Regions from separate parts of the Homo sapiens genome. Here regions 1, 3 and 4 are each linked to region 2. The links are contacts of gene promoters, found by promoter capture Hi-C in blood cells and fetal thymus (Javierre and others, 2016). All regions are on one chromosome and are shown on one strand. The core of a region is centred on a gene start or on the middle of the fragment in contact, and the rest is flanking DNA. Distances in the headings are between cores, read along the strand shown.

Evidence for each region. The method cuts DNA at HindIII sites, captures the fragments that hold promoters and counts their contacts. A CHiCAGO score of 5 or more calls a contact.
Region 1: a fragment that was not itself captured here is called in contact with the fragment with the promoter of HSP90AB1 in region 2 in 15 of 17 cell types (megakaryocytes, erythroblasts, M2 macrophages and 12 more); the score reaches 17.3 in megakaryocytes.
Region 3: a fragment that was not itself captured here is called in contact with the fragment with the promoter of HSP90AB1 in region 2 in 1 of 17 cell types (fetal thymus); the score reaches 6.1 in fetal thymus.
Region 4: a fragment that was not itself captured here is called in contact with the fragment with the promoter of HSP90AB1 in region 2 in 4 of 17 cell types (erythroblasts, fetal thymus, megakaryocytes and 1 more); the score reaches 7.0 in erythroblasts.

Annotation. Positions count from the first base shown.
Region 1 is chr6:44,095,555-44,099,381 of GRCh38, forward strand. No RefSeq gene overlaps it. Among named protein-coding and RNA genes, the nearest start is that of SCIRT, 23 kb to the left of the region's middle. RefSeq lists silencers at 1,198-1,492, 1,270-1,439 and an enhancer at 3,483-3,652. The HindIII fragment of the contact is 6,139 bases long and covers 1-3,827 here.
Region 2 is chr6:44,245,213-44,249,188 of GRCh38, forward strand. HSP90AB1 (heat shock protein 90 alpha family class B member 1) reads left to right here and starts at 1,889. Exons shown (of 12, transcript NM_007355.4): 1 at 1,889-1,983; 2 at 3,418-3,564. The coding sequence starts at 3,418. RefSeq lists enhancers at 191-945, 1,700-2,454, 2,939-2,988 and a silencer at 1,149-1,388. The HindIII fragment of the contact is 5,727 bases long and covers 1-2,625 here.
Region 3 is chr6:44,076,035-44,080,186 of GRCh38, forward strand. No RefSeq gene overlaps it. Among named protein-coding and RNA genes, the nearest start is that of SCIRT, 3.5 kb to the left of the region's middle. The HindIII fragment of the contact is 7,345 bases long and covers 1-4,152 here.
Region 4 is chr6:44,113,994-44,117,958 of GRCh38, forward strand. MRPL14 (mitochondrial ribosomal protein L14) reads right to left here. Exons shown (of 3, transcript NM_032111.4): 2 at 2,548-2,636; 3 at 1-216. The coding sequence starts at 2,618. Among named protein-coding and RNA genes, the nearest start is that of MRPL14, 11 kb to the right of the region's middle. RefSeq lists an enhancer at 3,213-3,382. The HindIII fragment of the contact is 188 bases long and covers 2,314-2,501 here.

The DNA of each region.
Region 1 (3,827 bases), core at 55-2,554, 150 kb before region 2:
AACTACAGGCGTGTGCCACCACACCCAGCTAATTTTTGTATTTTTAGTAGAGACAGGTTTTCACCATGTTGGCCAGCTGGTCTCGAACTCCTGATCTCAGGTGACCCACCCTCCTTAGCCTCCCAAAGTGCTAGGATTACAGGAATGAGCTACCACACCCGGCCAAGAAAGTATTTTTACAGACCCCAAGAATGGGGTGTCCAGCTGGGCGTGGTGGCTCATGCCTGTAAAATCCCAGTACTTTGGGAGGCCAAGGTTGGCGGATCACCTGAGGTCAGGAGTTCGAGACCAGCCTGGCCAGCATGGTGAAACCCTGTCTCTACTAAAAATACAAAAAATTAGCTGGGCGTGGTGGGAGGAGCCCGTAATCCCAGCTACTTGGGAGGCTGAGGCAGGAGAATCGCTTGAACCCGAGATGGCGCCATTGCACTCCAATCTGGGTGACGAGAGCGAAACTCCGTCTCAAAAAACAAAAAAAGAATGCAGTGTCCCCAGCCCCAGGCCCCGCCCTGCTTCACCCCACCTCCCTCCACAGTTTGGCCTGGGTCCATGGCTGGAGTCCCTTCCTAGCCTATAGCCCCAGGCCCTGCTGCAGTGACCCCCATCAGCCCAGGGCATTCTGTTCATGCCCCATGACTCTCATGAAGGATGAGAGCAGGGTGCTGGCTTTACAGGAGTTGGGTGAACCTCAGATACTGAGAGTGGACAACACTTACACAGCCCTGACCCGGAAAGGGGACCTGTTTTAAGTGCCTTATTTTGACTCACTTCAACCCTACAAGGTACGTACTATTACATTCCAAGGAGGGGAAACTGATGCACAGGGGACTTGCCCAAGGGATGTGAACCCTGGCAGTCTGGTGCCAGGGTCTGTCCTCCGTACTCCACCTCAAGGTAGTCATTGCTCTCTCTAGACTCTGAGTGTCTCTACCTGCTCTCCTCTCTCCTCTTTGCTTTCACAATGATCCTGCCAGATGCTCTCTTTCCTGCCAGAAGGGAGGGCTACATGTGAAAATCTGGCATCAGAGTCTCAGCCACTCCCTTCTCAGGAACCACCTGCCTGCCTGCCATAGCAGGCGGTGAAGAGCCAGCCCTGACATCAGACAGCTCCTGGAGGCAGGCAGGCCTGTCTGAACCCTCCTCCCTGCTGCAACAGAAATGGCTACCAGCCCCACTGGCCAGGCCTACAGCAGGCTGTGCCTGGCCCCCACTTGACAGGCAGCACTCACCTCTCACCTCTGCTCTGGGGGCCCAGCTGAGGCAGCACCTGCCCAGGATGTCATGGTGCCATAGTTGCACCAGCTCCAGGACCAGGGCAGCTGAACGCCCCTTTGCCCACTAGATGGCACAATGTGCACAGAAATGTGGGTTGACCGCTTGGCCACCCTTTCCACCTGCAGAGGAACTGGATTTCACCACACTCTGCATTTATCTCATTTTTATTCTCATTCCTCATCCTAACCCATAGCCAACCATTTGTATGTGTCCTTGCAAAACAAGTGCATGTATTTTTTAGTTTCACAATTAGTAATATATATATATATATATATATATATATATATAAAAAACACACACACACATTATAGATATATTTCTTAATTGTTTTCGCTCAGCACTGTATTTTTAAACCTCATTCATGTTGCTGTGAGCACATTTAGTTTCTGGTGGGCACCTTCCACATTTATTTACCCACTCTGAGGGCGACAGGCACCCAAGTTCCCTCCAACACCCCAGCAACCCTGCCATGACCGTCCTTGACAGGAACCGTTACGGCTCGGCCTGAAAACCTAAGAAGCGGAATTGCCAGGTTACAGGGCATGCAGCGACTTCATTTGGCACAGTACTGCCAGCCAGCTCTCAACCCACCCAGTTCTTGGAGGGTTCCTGGGGAAAAGACGCCCAGCCTCCTAGGACTAGTCAGCCTAGCACCCCTTCCTGTGGGGAGGGGCCCCAATCCTTTCTGCTTGGGCCCAAGGGAGATGGAGAGCCAGTGGCCTCTGTCAAGAGCGTCTTGCAAAGGTAAGACCTTAAGGTCCTACATCTCCCCTGGGCATTTTTTTTTTTAAGTAAAGGGCAATGGCTGGCCTGTTAAATCCCCCACATCCCTCTCTTCAGGAGCCTTTCTGATTACAAAGCCCATTCTTTTTCTCCCTTCTCCTCCCACAGAACTATCCCAGTTTCCTGCATTTTCCCATTTCTCTTCCTCTGCCCATCCCTTCCATGTGAACACCCTACACTTACTAGCTATGTGTCTGTGGACAAGTTACTTGGACTCTCCCTCTTTGTCTATAATATGGAAATAAGTAATATCATTACTAATAATAGGCACACAGGCATAATCCCTCCCTGGCCTCTGCACACAGCCCTCTCTCTAACTCAATGCTGCCCCACTTCCCACATATATTTAAGTAGCTCAAGCCCCTCCTCCCCCAGGAAGTCATCCCTGATTGAACCAGATACAGTCCCAATGTCCTTAATCCAACTGTCACCTACTAAGAGCTCAAGTGATTATTTTTGGCTGAAATTTGAAATAACAATAATGGCTATGATTGATACGCTGAGCACCTACTATGTGCCAAGAATTCTACGGCCTACTCCATATCCACACAAGAGCCCTGGAAGGCAGACATTGTCATCCTGACTTCTCAAATGAGGAGGCTGAGACTCAGAGAGTAAGGTGACTTGCCTGAAGTCACTGGCAGGTAATTGTCAAGGTCAGGACTGGAATACAGGCTTGTCTGATATAAAAGCTCTACCCCACACCACCTCCTTCAGAATCCCTTCCTCTTGCCCTCATTCCCCCATACACATGGTATGTGCATTGCATTTTAAAATTATTTGTGATTTTAAGTACACAAATAATAGAGGGATATAGTCTCTTTATTAAAAAATTAAAGCACTACAGAGCTGTGTCACCTTTGACCAGGAACCTTCTACCTCCCTCCTCCCCAAAGGAACTCCCACTATTAGCACTGTCTTGGGTATCATTCTTGTGCTTTTTTGCCTTTTTTTTTTTTTTTTTTTGAGACAGGGTATCTTGCTCTGGTGCCCAGGCTGGAGTGCAGGGAATGTAGTGGTGTGATATCACAGCTCACCACAACCTCTGCCTCCCAGGTTCAGGTGATCTTCATGCTCAGCCTCCCAAGTGGCTGGGATTACAGGTGCACACCACCAGGCCCAGCTAATTTTTGTATTTTTAGTAGAGACGGGGTTTCACCATGTTGGCCAGGCTGGTCTCGAACTCCTGGTCTCGAGTGACCACCCACCTCAGCCTCCCAAAGTGCTGGGATTATAGGTGTGAGCCACTGCACCCAGTCCCATAAATTTTTCTGTATTTGTAGGAAATAACGTTGTTAAGTGATTTTACATAAATAATGTGTGTGGGGCCGGGCACAGTGGTTCATGCTTGTAATCCCGGCACTTTGGGAGAACGAGGCGGGTGAATCACTTGAGACCAGGAGTTCGGGACCGGCCTGGTCAACATGGCGAAAACGCGTCTCTACTAAAAACACAAAAATTATCTGGGCATGGTGGCCTGTGATCCCAGCTATGCAGGAGGTTGAGACACCTTGAACCCGGCGTATGGAGGCAGAAGTGAGCTGAGATTGCACCACTGCACTCCAGCCTGGGTGACAGAGTGAGACCCTGTCTTAAAAAAAAAAAAAAACAAAAAACCCACAATAATGTGTGAGGTATATCACTCTTCAACAGGCTTTTTTCCATTCAACAATATGTCTTGGAGAGCTACATCTATCTATACCTACACCATCCTTTCTTGGAACAGTTGTGTGCTACTCCATGGCACACATGGACTTTGCTTATTTACC
Region 2 (3,976 bases), core at 639-3,138:
GCAGAAAGGGAGCTAGTGCAGCAAGGACTCTGAGTAGACGGGCCTTGGGAGTCACTGAAGCCACTTCCCTGTTGACAGAATGTGCACACTGACTTTCATCCGCTCACAGGAGAGTGAGAGTTTGTGAATGCTCTCTGTGAACTGGGGAGCAGATTTTTAATGAGCTCTGCTTAGAAGGAGAGGACACGTTAAGGGATCACGCTCCCACTGGTTTGCGGTTTTGGTCAGGAATAGAGCACCCAACGCCCCTTCTTATAGACTTCTCCCAGCCATAGGCTTTTTGCAGACCATAATGAAAGGGAGAAAGGATATCCAATCGGGATGGTGATGGCAGGCATGGCGAAGTGGACAGGGACAAAGAAGAGGAAAGCAAGGGACACCCTTTGTTCTTTGGTATTCAACACATGAACAAAACTTGTTAACGAATCGTAGACTGGGTAACAACAGGGCTGGTGAGGGAGGACGATGTGGGTGGCTGTGGGGAAACTCTTCCCAAGCATCCCAGGGGTGGGCCAGGAAGGGGAGCAGATGGACATCTACAGGGCACAGAGCAGGGAGTGGCTATTCTCTCCTGGAGGGGTTGTGGGTCCAGCAGGCTTTCGGATGAGGCCTTGGAAAGGCAAGGACAGCTTGCCAACTGGAGGGCAGGCAAAACGGCTGAGCCAGGCCAGACACGGCAGCTCACTGGCCAGGGGCATGGCCTAGGGGCTCTGGTGCCAAGGCTGAAGGGGAACAACTTGGCCAGCCGCTCTGTGGCCGGCATCGTCACGCGGCCTCCAAGAGCTCCGGCTGCCCTGCACTGGTTCCCAGAGACTCCCTCCTTCCCAGGTCCAAATGGCTGCAGGAGCGAAGTGGGCGGAAAAAAAGCGAACCAGCTTGAGAAAGGGCTTGACGTGCCTGCGTAGGGAGGGCGCATGTCCCCGTGCTCCGTGTACGTGGCGGCCGCAGGGGCTAGAGGGGGGTCCCCCCCGCAGGTACTCCACTCTCAGTCTGCAAAAGTGTACGCCCGCAGAGCCGCCCCAGGTGCCTGGGTGTTGTGTGATTGACGCGGGGAAGGAGGGGTCAGCCGATCCCTCCCCAACCCTCCATCCCATCCCTGAGGATTGGGCTGGTACCCGCGTCTCTCGGACAGGTCAGAGCGGGTCGCCGGGTGGGGTCGCTGCAAAAACCCTGCCCCGGCCGCAGCCGGAGAGGCGGAGCCTCGCGGGGAGGGGGCGGGACCGCCGAGACAGGCCTGGAAACTGCTGGAAATGCCGCAGTGCCGCCGCCGCGCCTTCCGCCGCATGTCGGCAAAGAGTCCCCGCCAGCCCCGGCCGGCGCCCTCCCCCTACGCTGAGCTGCCCCTCAGCGCGAACCCTCCGCCCTTCCTCTACTCCTGCGAGAGTCGGGATCTGGGGCTACCCAAGGTTGGGTCCCGAATGCCAGTCCCTCTGTCGGGACGCGAGATGTGTAGGGCAGATGCTAGGAAGAAGATTGGGTCTGGGAGCGGTGGTCCGCGTGGTTAGCTGCCTCCGCTCTTTTTCGGTGTCCCCCCCAGTCCCGCCCTTGGGTGTGGGGACGCCTGCCCCACAAGTGTTTAGGGAGGTCAGTGGGTTCCTCGCCCGTAGAGACACCGTTTATGCCAAATGAGCACTCCTCATCCCCGCTCTTGATGGAGTCATGTCCTAGACGTGAAACTATGGGGCTGTGATCACAAGCAAATGTGTGGGCGGATCCGTTGCTTGGGTTCTTCCCCGCCCCCTCTTTTTTTCGGACCATGACGTCAAGGTGGGCTGGTGGCGGCAGGTGCGGGGTTGACAATCATACTCCTTTAAGGCGGAGGGATCTACAGGAGGGCGGCTGTACTGTGCTTCGCCTTATATAGGGCGACTTGGGGCACGCAGTAGCTCTCTCGAGTCACTCCGGCGCAGTGTTGGGACTGTCTGGGTATCGGAAAGCAAGCCTACGTTGCTCACTATTACGTATAATCCTTTTCTTTTCAAGGTAAGGCTGAGATCTCCGCTAGGCTTCTTTCCCTTTAGTGCTGTATTCGTGTTGTTTTTGTTTTTTTCTGTCCTTTAGGGAGCCTTAGTCTAGATGTCGGGGTGGCTTGTGGATAACGCTCTGGATTTTTATAGGGTGAGGGTAGTGGTGGGTGAGGTTTTTTGAGTCCTCCTCGGTTTTCTCTAGTGTGTTTGGGGGGTGGGGCTTTCTCTCGGCGCCTGCTGGCCGTAGCGAGGTGGGCTGTGGGGTTGGGGCAGTGGGCGGCTGGCAGCTGCACGTGGTGGCCGCGCGGCCCGGGACGCTGCCATTTTTGCCCCTCCACTTCCGGACGCGGCTACGGGGCGTCGGAGGGGGACCGCAGGGTGGCGGGGGTGCCCGCTCGGGTGACTCAGCACGGCCTTGTGGGACTGGCTTTGTCACCTCTCTTATCGGACGCGTTGTTAAAGCCTTCTTGGGTGCTTTGTTTCTGTGAGGGAGGGTTGACGGTGTGGGAAGAGAGCTTTCGGTCTCCAGCACCCGATACTCCCTCCTTCCAGATCTTTCTTGCAGTCCCGGTGGAGGAGGGGCGGGGAGGGGAGCAGGTTCTGGAAGATTCATGGGCTCCTTCCTCCGCCCTTCCTCGAGAGCTGAGATTGTTCTGGAAGCTTCTGGATTCTGGCGCCCCGCCCCAGTGCCCGGATGCTGGGGCGAGGGAGGGTGCACTGCGGCGCCCCCTCCTCGCGTGGTCCTGGCCGACGCATGTCCGGCAGTGACGAGTGTCGGCCTGGTGGCTACGGCCACCATCTTTCTTGGGTTTGGTCCTGTTCTGTAATTTTGTGCTGTGAAAGGGTCGTGGTGGAGCTTTTGGCTTAAGAATTCTTTGTCCGGATTTAATTGCTCCTCCGGTGGGTATCGTATGGATCCCAGGTTATTCCTCCCTGCCCTATGGGGCAGGAGTGTCCCGCCCTTGGACTGGTCTTAGGAACTGACACCTCAGGGGGAGCAGTTTAAAGTTAGTGCCATTTTTATCTTAAACTAGTCACTTTGATCTCCCCCAAATAAAGAACTGTAGGTAGTGATTTTCACATTTAAATTTGTGTAAGGATTACTTGGGATCTCTAGATACCTGGGTTGGACCAACATTATGATTTTTCTGCCATACTACCAGATGATGCTGAGGCTGCTGGTCACCATTCTTTAAGTAGGTGGGTTCTGTGACATTTGGTTGAAGAATATTTAGCTTATTTTCTTTTTCCTTCTGAATTTTCAGGCCTCCCACTTAGTGTGTAGTCTGAGATCTTTAAGAGAATGCATTTTTAGTCTTGGGAAGGGATAGTACTCCGGTTAAACCAGTCTGAACTCACTGTCTAAGGTCCTAACAAATGATATGACCTTTAGGATTTTTAAACATGGGGCCTTAGTGTTCTTTTGTAATTAATGAGATTTTTATTTTAGATGCCTGAGGAAGTGCACCATGGAGAGGAGGAGGTGGAGACTTTTGCCTTTCAGGCAGAAATTGCCCAACTCATGTCCCTCATCATCAATACCTTCTATTCCAACAAGGAGATTTTCCTTCGGGAGTTGATCTCTAATGCTTCTGATGTAGGTGCTCTGGTTTCCACATTTGGCATGGTTTTTTTTTTTGATACTCTAGAAGGAGGGGAAAGGAGTGGTTTGGCCTTTGTTGGGGACTACTATTGAAGGGGGTAAACTTGCAGCTATTCCAAAAAGATGGGTTTTACTCTGGCCATCTTGAACTTGGAAGGGACTATGTCCAGAATAAGTGGGCTCATGGAACTAACTGGTTCTAAAGCCTCAAGATAGGGGGCAATCAGATTTGAGGCTGAGAGAGGTAAACCAAGATTTTCTTTGAAGATACGGGCTTTAAGAAAGCAAAAGTGGCTGAGCGTGTTGGCTCACACCTGTAATGCCAAGGCAGGAGGATCACTTGAGCCTAGGATTTCGAGGGCAGCCTGGGCAACCGCGAGACCTTGTCTCTGCAAAAAATTAAATA
Region 3 (4,152 bases), core at 258-2,757, 170 kb before region 2:
AAAGCAATGGGGCAGGGCGGGGACAGGGGGAGGAGAGGGGAGGGGAGGAGGTAGGGGGCTGTGACCTAACTGGGCTCAAACTCTCAAACTCTGGTCAGCCTCCTTCTGGACCACAGCAAACCTGTGTGTACCCACCCACTTAGGAGACCCTCTCCTGGGCCCCAGGTCAGAGCAAGACCCAAAGTGGACTAGGGTGGCTCTGCAGAAAAAGCAGGTGCCCTGGGGTGGTGGGAACAGGCCTTTTGAGGTTAGGGAGGTGTGGACTGGCATGAGGGAATTGGAGAGGTGCAAGGAGCTCTGGGATGGGAACTGGTCCCTCTCCTGTCACGTATAATTCCATCCCTCCCAAGGTCATTGCTGTCACCCAAGTTAGGGGCCCAGCCCCCTCCTTTGGTCAGTGAAGTCCCAGGGCAGCCCATTTTAAATACAACGGGGCCTGAAGGCTAACTTCTGGCCTTCCTGCTTCGGGAAATCATTCCAATAACCGGGAAAAAAGGGGGCCCGAGGACAGAGCCCCTGCCGGGCCCCAGGGGGAGTGTCGTCGGCTCCTTTGCGTCGCCGGCCGGCGGCGTGGCGGGGACTCTGGCCGGCAGCCTCCCGCGCCGTCCGGAGCAGCTGACCCGCTGGCGGTGGGCCAGGTCGCGGCGGGGCCTGGAGGCAGCAACGTGCGGCGCGGCATGTCGCGGGCGCCGCGGCAGGGAAATGTGGGGGCGGGCCGGCGCGCCCCCTCCCCCCCGCCTACGCTGGCCCATTCATAAAACCTGCAGGCGCTGCCCGGCCTGGCAGCCTTGGTCTCCTAATTGCAAACTCATTAAGGAGTTTGCATCTCATTTGCATGGAAATCATTTCCTGGCCCTAAACAGAGAAACTTCCCGCCCCTCCACCAGCCCCTCTCTGCCCTGCTTTACCCATGCACAGTCTGGGAGAGGAGAGGGGGCATATCTCTGACCTGCGCCCCTTCCCTGGCCTCACCACCACCCTCCCACTTTAGGAGTTGGGGAAGGGATTGGCAGAACACCCACCCAGCCAGGAGCCCTGCCTGTGCCCCAGGTGAGCCGGCCCTGCCCTAGTGGGTCCAACTGAGGGGAGGTGCCTGCCAAGTCATTTGCCCCCCGGCCTGGCCGTGCCCAGGGAAGGGAGGAGGCGGTCGGCAGTTGGCCCCAGCAGCTGGTTGTACCTGGCAGGAGGTGGGTGAGGCTTTTCGTGCCCAGCCTCACGTACGTGCCCTGCCATAGGCCGTGCCCCCACCCCCACACCCCTCACCCCACAGAACAAGCGCCTAGTGACTGCAGAAACAGACACCCAGTCATGGCACACAAAGGCACCCACACCAGGCCAGCCATCATGGCTGCCCCCCTGGCAGCCACCCTGGAGGGCAGACAGATGCCTTCACAAGCCATTTTGTCTTTCTCCAGCTTGGTGCCAGGACTGGGGGTGGGGGAAAGGGTTTCTCCTGAGACTTCTCTGAGTAAGGGGGCCCACAGAGGGGTTTCCTTATGTACCCCAGCTGTGGCCTCTTGCCCCCTCTCTCCTGTAACCCATGTTTACAGAGGCCTCCAAGTGCTCTACCCTGCATGGGGACCTGCCCAGGCGAGGGGGTCACAGGAGCCTCCAACCCAGGAGGGGAAGTGAGAGATAAAGCCCCTAAGGAAGGGACACCTAAGTGCCTCCCCAACCAGGGTCTGTCCTTCGTGTCCCAAGTGTGTGTAGTGGAGGGAGTGCTCCCCAGTTTCCTGGGGGTTGAGGTGGGGCGGTATTCTAAACCTTTGGAAATGGAATAGAACTACCTAAAGTATATGAAATTAGATACTACTTGGGACACTATGTCTTGGTTCTGTATGTCCTGGGACAGTGTAAAAAGTGATCACAAAATTTTCAACATCACAGTCTAAAATAAAAACCTGCCTCTTGTCTGCCTCCTCAGACATAAACCTGCTTACGCTTCCCATCTGCCCACACTCCCACCTGCTGTATCTGAAGTTTCTCCCTTCCTTTGCTAGGGCATAAAGGGGTGGGCAAGGATGTTCTGGAACACTGACCACACATCCGTCCTGAGTATGGCTGGACTGACCCTACCCTCCCAGCTCCTGGAGCAGTTGGGTTCCAAGTGCCATATGTGTGCGTGGTTCAGGGGTACTGGAAGAAAGTTTTAGAATGCCTATTTATTTTTCATCGAATCCTTTTTTCATTTAGTGTGAGTGTGTTTTACAAGGTAAACTATATAAAAACATACTCATCTGACGGGTGCGTACTCAACAATCTTTTTTATTGCTAAGGGCACATGATCAAAAAAACTTCGGAGGTCACTGGCCTAGACTTCAGGTGGGGCAGCTGTGGGCAGGGGATGGCTTGTCTTGTCCATCTAAGTATCCAGCCTGACACATGACTAGTTCAGAGCCTGGCAGGGAGCAGAGGTCAGGGACACAGTATTGAATGAATGAAGTCCACCCCTAGAACTGACAGATGAGGAAACTGAAATAATTCTGGGGCGGGGAGATTGCTCAGAGGAGGACATGGGCAGGTTGAGAGAGTCTCCCCTCATTGCTGCTATGTCTGCAGCCTGCCCGTGTCCAACACCCAGCACCCACACAAACCTTACTTCTACCCACCCCAGGGAGCACAGCTCCCTCCTCTGCCTACCAGCAGAGTGGCCACCTGTCTTGAGCTTCTTACTGGATCCTGATTAGCAGAGCCAGACAGGGTTGTCACCTGCCATATCCCTCTACGTGGCAGAAAGTCTGTTGCCAGCTTTGTATCCTAGAACTCTCTGGAAGTCAATCTGGTGTAGGAGAAAGAATTTAGGCTCCAGACAGGCGTCAGTCCTCATCCAGCTTGGTGACCTTGGGCACAACACATAACTGGTATAAGCCTCAGTTTCCCAATCTGTATCTTGGGACCAATATTTGTACTTACTGTACAGAGTTGTTGTGAATGTTGAGTAGCCCACTGTGTGTGTAGGCTCTGGCATATACTAGGTGTTCAGTAAGATTCCTGTCCCTCTGTGTGCAGCAGGTGCCCCATGAAGAATCTGTTGAATTGTGATTTGACATCAGCATGGGAAGGAGAATTCCGAAGGCAGACAAATGAGCCTTTGCTCCCTCCTCTGCCTGCTGGCACGGTGCCCACCAGTCTGAGTTCTGTCCTGCACCTTCCTGCAGAAATGAAGCAGCCACTCTGGCAGCCTTGGGTCCCCTCCAGGCTCATCCACTCTGTGGTGGGGTGTCCTCCTCCTTTTCTCCCTTACAGCTCCTTTCCCTTTTTCTGTGCTGCCTTCACTTCAAGCATGAGCTGAGGGTGACTCCTGGTGGCCATTCATATAACTGCAGAATCCTGACCATTGTCACCGCCACCTGGAAGTGCATGAAGTCGAGTGTGCAAGGAAGCCATTCTTCACACTTTCCCTACACCTCCCAACTCCCTGTCAGGGCCCTGGGGAGCCTCAGGGGTGGCCACTCCCCGGGGACTCCACCCTCCGAAGTTCCACCTCTAAGGGCTTCACTTGCCTGATGGGTGGGGACGATCAAGGAGGCCTCTGCCCAGATCCTGCAGCACCAGGCCTGCCCCAGGCAAAAAGCAGGACAGTGGCTACTCTTCCCTCAAGTGCCACTGAACACTTTGCAGGCATCATTTTGTCCAATTCTTATCACTGGAGCCCATTATCACAAAGAAGAAACCAAGGTTAAGCAACTTGCCAAGGGTCACACAGCTCCTCAGTGCCCAAATGGTGAAATGAATACAGGTGACACTCAGTGGGACACCAGACCAGCCCCTGGGGGACAGAAGAGGCCTATAGGAAGGAGCCTGCCATGGGGTTAGAAGCCTCAGATTCTGACCCGACCTTGCCCCAACTAGTGGGGTGGCCTCCATCAAGGGCCTCTGCTCACTGAGCCTCAGCCTCCTCGATGGCATCATGGGGCGGAGGACAGAGCAGGATTCTCAGATTGGCTGTACATGGGAATCACTGGGAGGATTTTTCAAATACCCATGTTTGCCCAGCCCTGACTAAGGAAATCAAAATTGGTAGGGGTTGGCTAAGACAAAGGTAATTTTAAGAAAATATTTCTAGGTGATTCTATAGGCAGCCAGGGTTGAGAATGGGTCCTCTAGGAGTTCCCCATCTTCAGACTTCCCAGCCCTCTAGAGGTCAGCTCC
Region 4 (3,965 bases), core at 1,158-3,657, 130 kb before region 2:
ATTCGGGGGCCAGGCATGCAGTGCCCCACAATGAGCGCCTTTTTCTTCTGTCCCTTGATGGCCAGTAGTATCTGGTCGCCCACCTTGCCCACTCCATTCTTCTTATAGACATGGATGCAGCGAGGAGCCCGATGGTATGGGCTGTTCCCCAGGGCACTGTTGTCCACCACTCGTACCCGCGTCATCTTCTGAATCGCACTCAGACTCCCAGTGGTGCTGGTGGGAGGAAAAAAAAAAGTCTGCAGTCTGTATCTCTTATGGTCAGGGTGCACAGGCCTCTGAGAGGTCAAGGCTAGGGAGAATGTACATGTCAGCAACACACACAGAGCAGAGTGCTGTCCAGGAGCAGCAACAGAAAGTCAGGACTTTGTGAAGACTTATCTGTACCCACAACAGTTTCCTCACAATTGAGAGCTTCTGCTGTTGTGTCAAGGTCTCAATTTGGATGGGTTTTAAAGAGAACCCAATTTTTCTGTGACAATGAACTTCACAGCAGCCATAACTTAAAGCCTTTGCTTTCCAAAAGGACTCTAAGGACTTAAAGGAATCCCTTATGGGCTAGGCCTCACCCACTGCCTATCCTGAAAAACCTGCTTCCCCAGAATACACCATTCCCTAATTTTCTTTTTTTTTGAGACGGAGTCTCGCTCTGTCGCCCAGGCTAGAGTGCGGTGGCGCCATCTCAGCTCACTGCAAGCTCCACCTCCCGGGTTCACACCATTCTCCTGCCTCAGCCTCCCAAGTAGCTAGGAATACATGCGCCTGCTGCCATGCCCAGCTAATTTTTTGTATTTTTTAGTAGAGACAGGGTTTCACCGTGTTAGCCAGGATGGTCTCGATCTCCTGACCTCATGATCCGCCCGCCTCGGCCTCCCAAAGGGCTGAGATTACAGGCGTGAGCCACCGCGCCCGGTCCCCTAATTTTCTTATTTACATGTTGCTGGGAACTAGAAGATATGGGTAAGTTTACTAAGGGAATTCTCTGACACAACATACCAGAAACTGGTAATAAGTCAAGGTAACAATCTTCTGTTTTAATACATTTTTTCTCATTAGAAAAAAAAATTTTAGAGAGTACTTATTGAAGGCAGACAAGGTATTATTAAGCAAGCTGATTACAGTGGGATTCCTATTTTCCTGATGCTAGCACCTGATGCTGGTGTTTCCGCAGGGTAATCCTAGGACCTCTTCTCTCGTTTTTTATGCCTACTCTGGGCAATCTTACCCATTAGCATTGCTGCCAACTAGTAAATTCCATCTCCAGCCCCGCCTCTCTTCTATATTCTAGTTCTATATATTTCCACTCTCCTCAACTCCCTACAACATGCTCTATAGATACTGCAAACTCAGTAGGTCCCAAACTCATCTCACTGCCTCCCCTTGCAAACCTCCGCCTGCTGCTACACTTATCTAGACGATGGCTTCTCCAGCAGTACCAGAAGCCAAGCCATAAACCTCTCTCCACCAACATGAACTGGCCACCAAGTCCTGTTAATATCACCCCCTAAGCACCTATGTCCTTTCTCTCCAATCCCGCCAACAACTTCCTTCATTTAGCAGCTCACTCTCCTACACCAAGACTGTGACATTAGTGTCCTAGTTGGTTCCCATTGCACTTCACTTTGCCAACAAAGAGCTCTCTTTAGAATATAAAAGTGATGCTACTCCCCACCATCTACACTGTCAACAACCTTGTCCCAATTTACCTACCTTCTAAGGCTACACATCCTACCACTCTGGGCAGGAGAACCAGGAACCACTTCCCCAAGCACACCCTGCCTCCCAATTCTCCCTGGAGGCCTAGACAGGATCTGCCCCCATCTCCCTTTTGAGAAGACTGCCTCCACTCTTTCTCCTCCTCTTCCTCCACTAGCAGCTCCTATATGACGCCTTCCAAAGCACTGTACAATCCTCTATTATAATATTCTATCACATTTTCTTAGAGTTACTTATTTTCAAGTTTGCTCCTGTGGCTGACAGTGAGAATTCTTTCAGGACAGAAAGCAACTCTCTTTCATCTCTGTATGGCCAACCCCAGGTGCGGTGCTCAGGAAATGCCTGTGGGATGAGGGCATGACGGGGCCAGGAGGCATGTCTGCCAACAAGCGTGCCTCCTGTGCTCTCCTGGCTTAGCATCTACAAGGAGGGGAGGGTGTCACACTTCTATCATGCTCAAGTTCTTGGTAATAAGCATGTATTATTTTTGTAATTAAAAAAATTCCGTTTTTAAAAGGATTTTAATGCTCTAGGGGAATGATAGGGTTGAGAGATGTCAGATTCACTGTAAGAGTCTTGCAAGGACTGAAGAGTAAAAGCTTCCGCCATATGCCATTCCCCATCACACTTCTAACAGCAACATCACCTCTTTACCTATCCCCCATCCTGTGACCAGACCAACCAGGCCAGCTCAGCCTGATCACTTTAGCTTTCCCCAACCCCATGCCCACCTCCCTGAGTTTTTACTCCTGTTCTAGTCACCGTAATACCCAGCCCTGATAGGAAGCTTACACAAAGACACAGTTTTAAGAACTTAATGGGAAAAGTTACCTGAAACAGTGATGGCTCAGCACTCTGCTTACACAGGTGAAGGGGCCCCAGAGCCCAGTAAAGAAAGCCATGGGATCCCAAGATAGATCCTGCAGGAAAAACGAGAGGGGGAAAAATTGGTTTCTAAGTCAGAGCCCTTAAAGCCAGTTTTCTTTGGGGACTTGTGTGGGAGATGGCACTTCCAGCACAAGATCATTAGTCACAAAATATAAATCTTAGTGGTTAAAGGATACACAGATGATTAGACAGAGCTGTAGCTCCGATTTTGCTGATTCACATTCTAACTCTGGGGTTGGAGAGGGAGAATGGCCCACAACAGCTTCTGCTATAAAAAAATACAACAGCACGGAGAATGCCTTCCTTATTATATCACTTCCACAGGCAGGAGGAAAATATGAGCCCTTGGTTATAAACCCAGCCAGGGACTTCTTCTCGAGTCCTCCATAGAGGAAAAACTGCACACTATTGCCCTTTTTGATATTCATATGCCTTCTGAAACCAGCACTTTAACTCCCTAAAAGAAAGTAAATTATCTAAGCAGCCACCCAAGTTGTCTATCACTACATCACCTTTCCCCCAAATGTAAAGGCCAGAACACCTGTACAGCTCAAGGCCAGCAAAGCAAAGCCAAAGGCTGCTCTTGCCAAGTCAAAGACCAAAGTCTTTATTTGGGTCAGTCTCCCAAACACTGTAACATGGAAAACTGACCTACACCATACTACAGCTGAAAGTGGGCTTTGGGAAACCAACTTGAAGAGTTAGCTAAAAGAGCAAACACCAACCCAAGACTTGTGACTCCAGTTTTCAGAATCTCAACCCTGTTGCTCCCTAGCACTAACAAATATGGAGGCTGCCAGTGCCCTGAAACACCTGAACATCACTTCAGAGCATGCTTCAGAAAGGCCTGTAGCCAGCTGCAAAACACACCTGTTTTTCCACCCAAACGTTTGGCAGCAGAGGTGCCCATTCAAGAGGTCTGCCGAGAAAAGCCTCTACACTGTAGTATTTACACACAGCTTTGCTATGCACAAGTTCAAACCACCTCAGATAAGATTTTATTTAATAAGAATGTTAGGGTGGGGCAGGGGAATCCACTCCTCCCCAGGAATACCTAGACACTCCATACTTTTTTTTCTTTCCTTGAGACAAGTCTTGCTCTGTCACCCATGCTGGAATGTAGTGGTGCAACTGCAGCTCACTGCAGTCCCGAACTCCCCAAGCTCAGGTGATCCTCCCACCTCAGCCTCCCAAGTAGTCAGGACCACAGACATGCACCAGGACGCCTGGCTAATTTTTTGTGTTTTTTTTTTTTTTTTTTTTTTTTTTGTAGAGATGATGGTCTCACTATGTTGCCCAGGCTGGCCTTGAACTCCTGAGTTCATGCAATCCTCCCGCCTCAGCCCCGCAAAGTGCTGGGA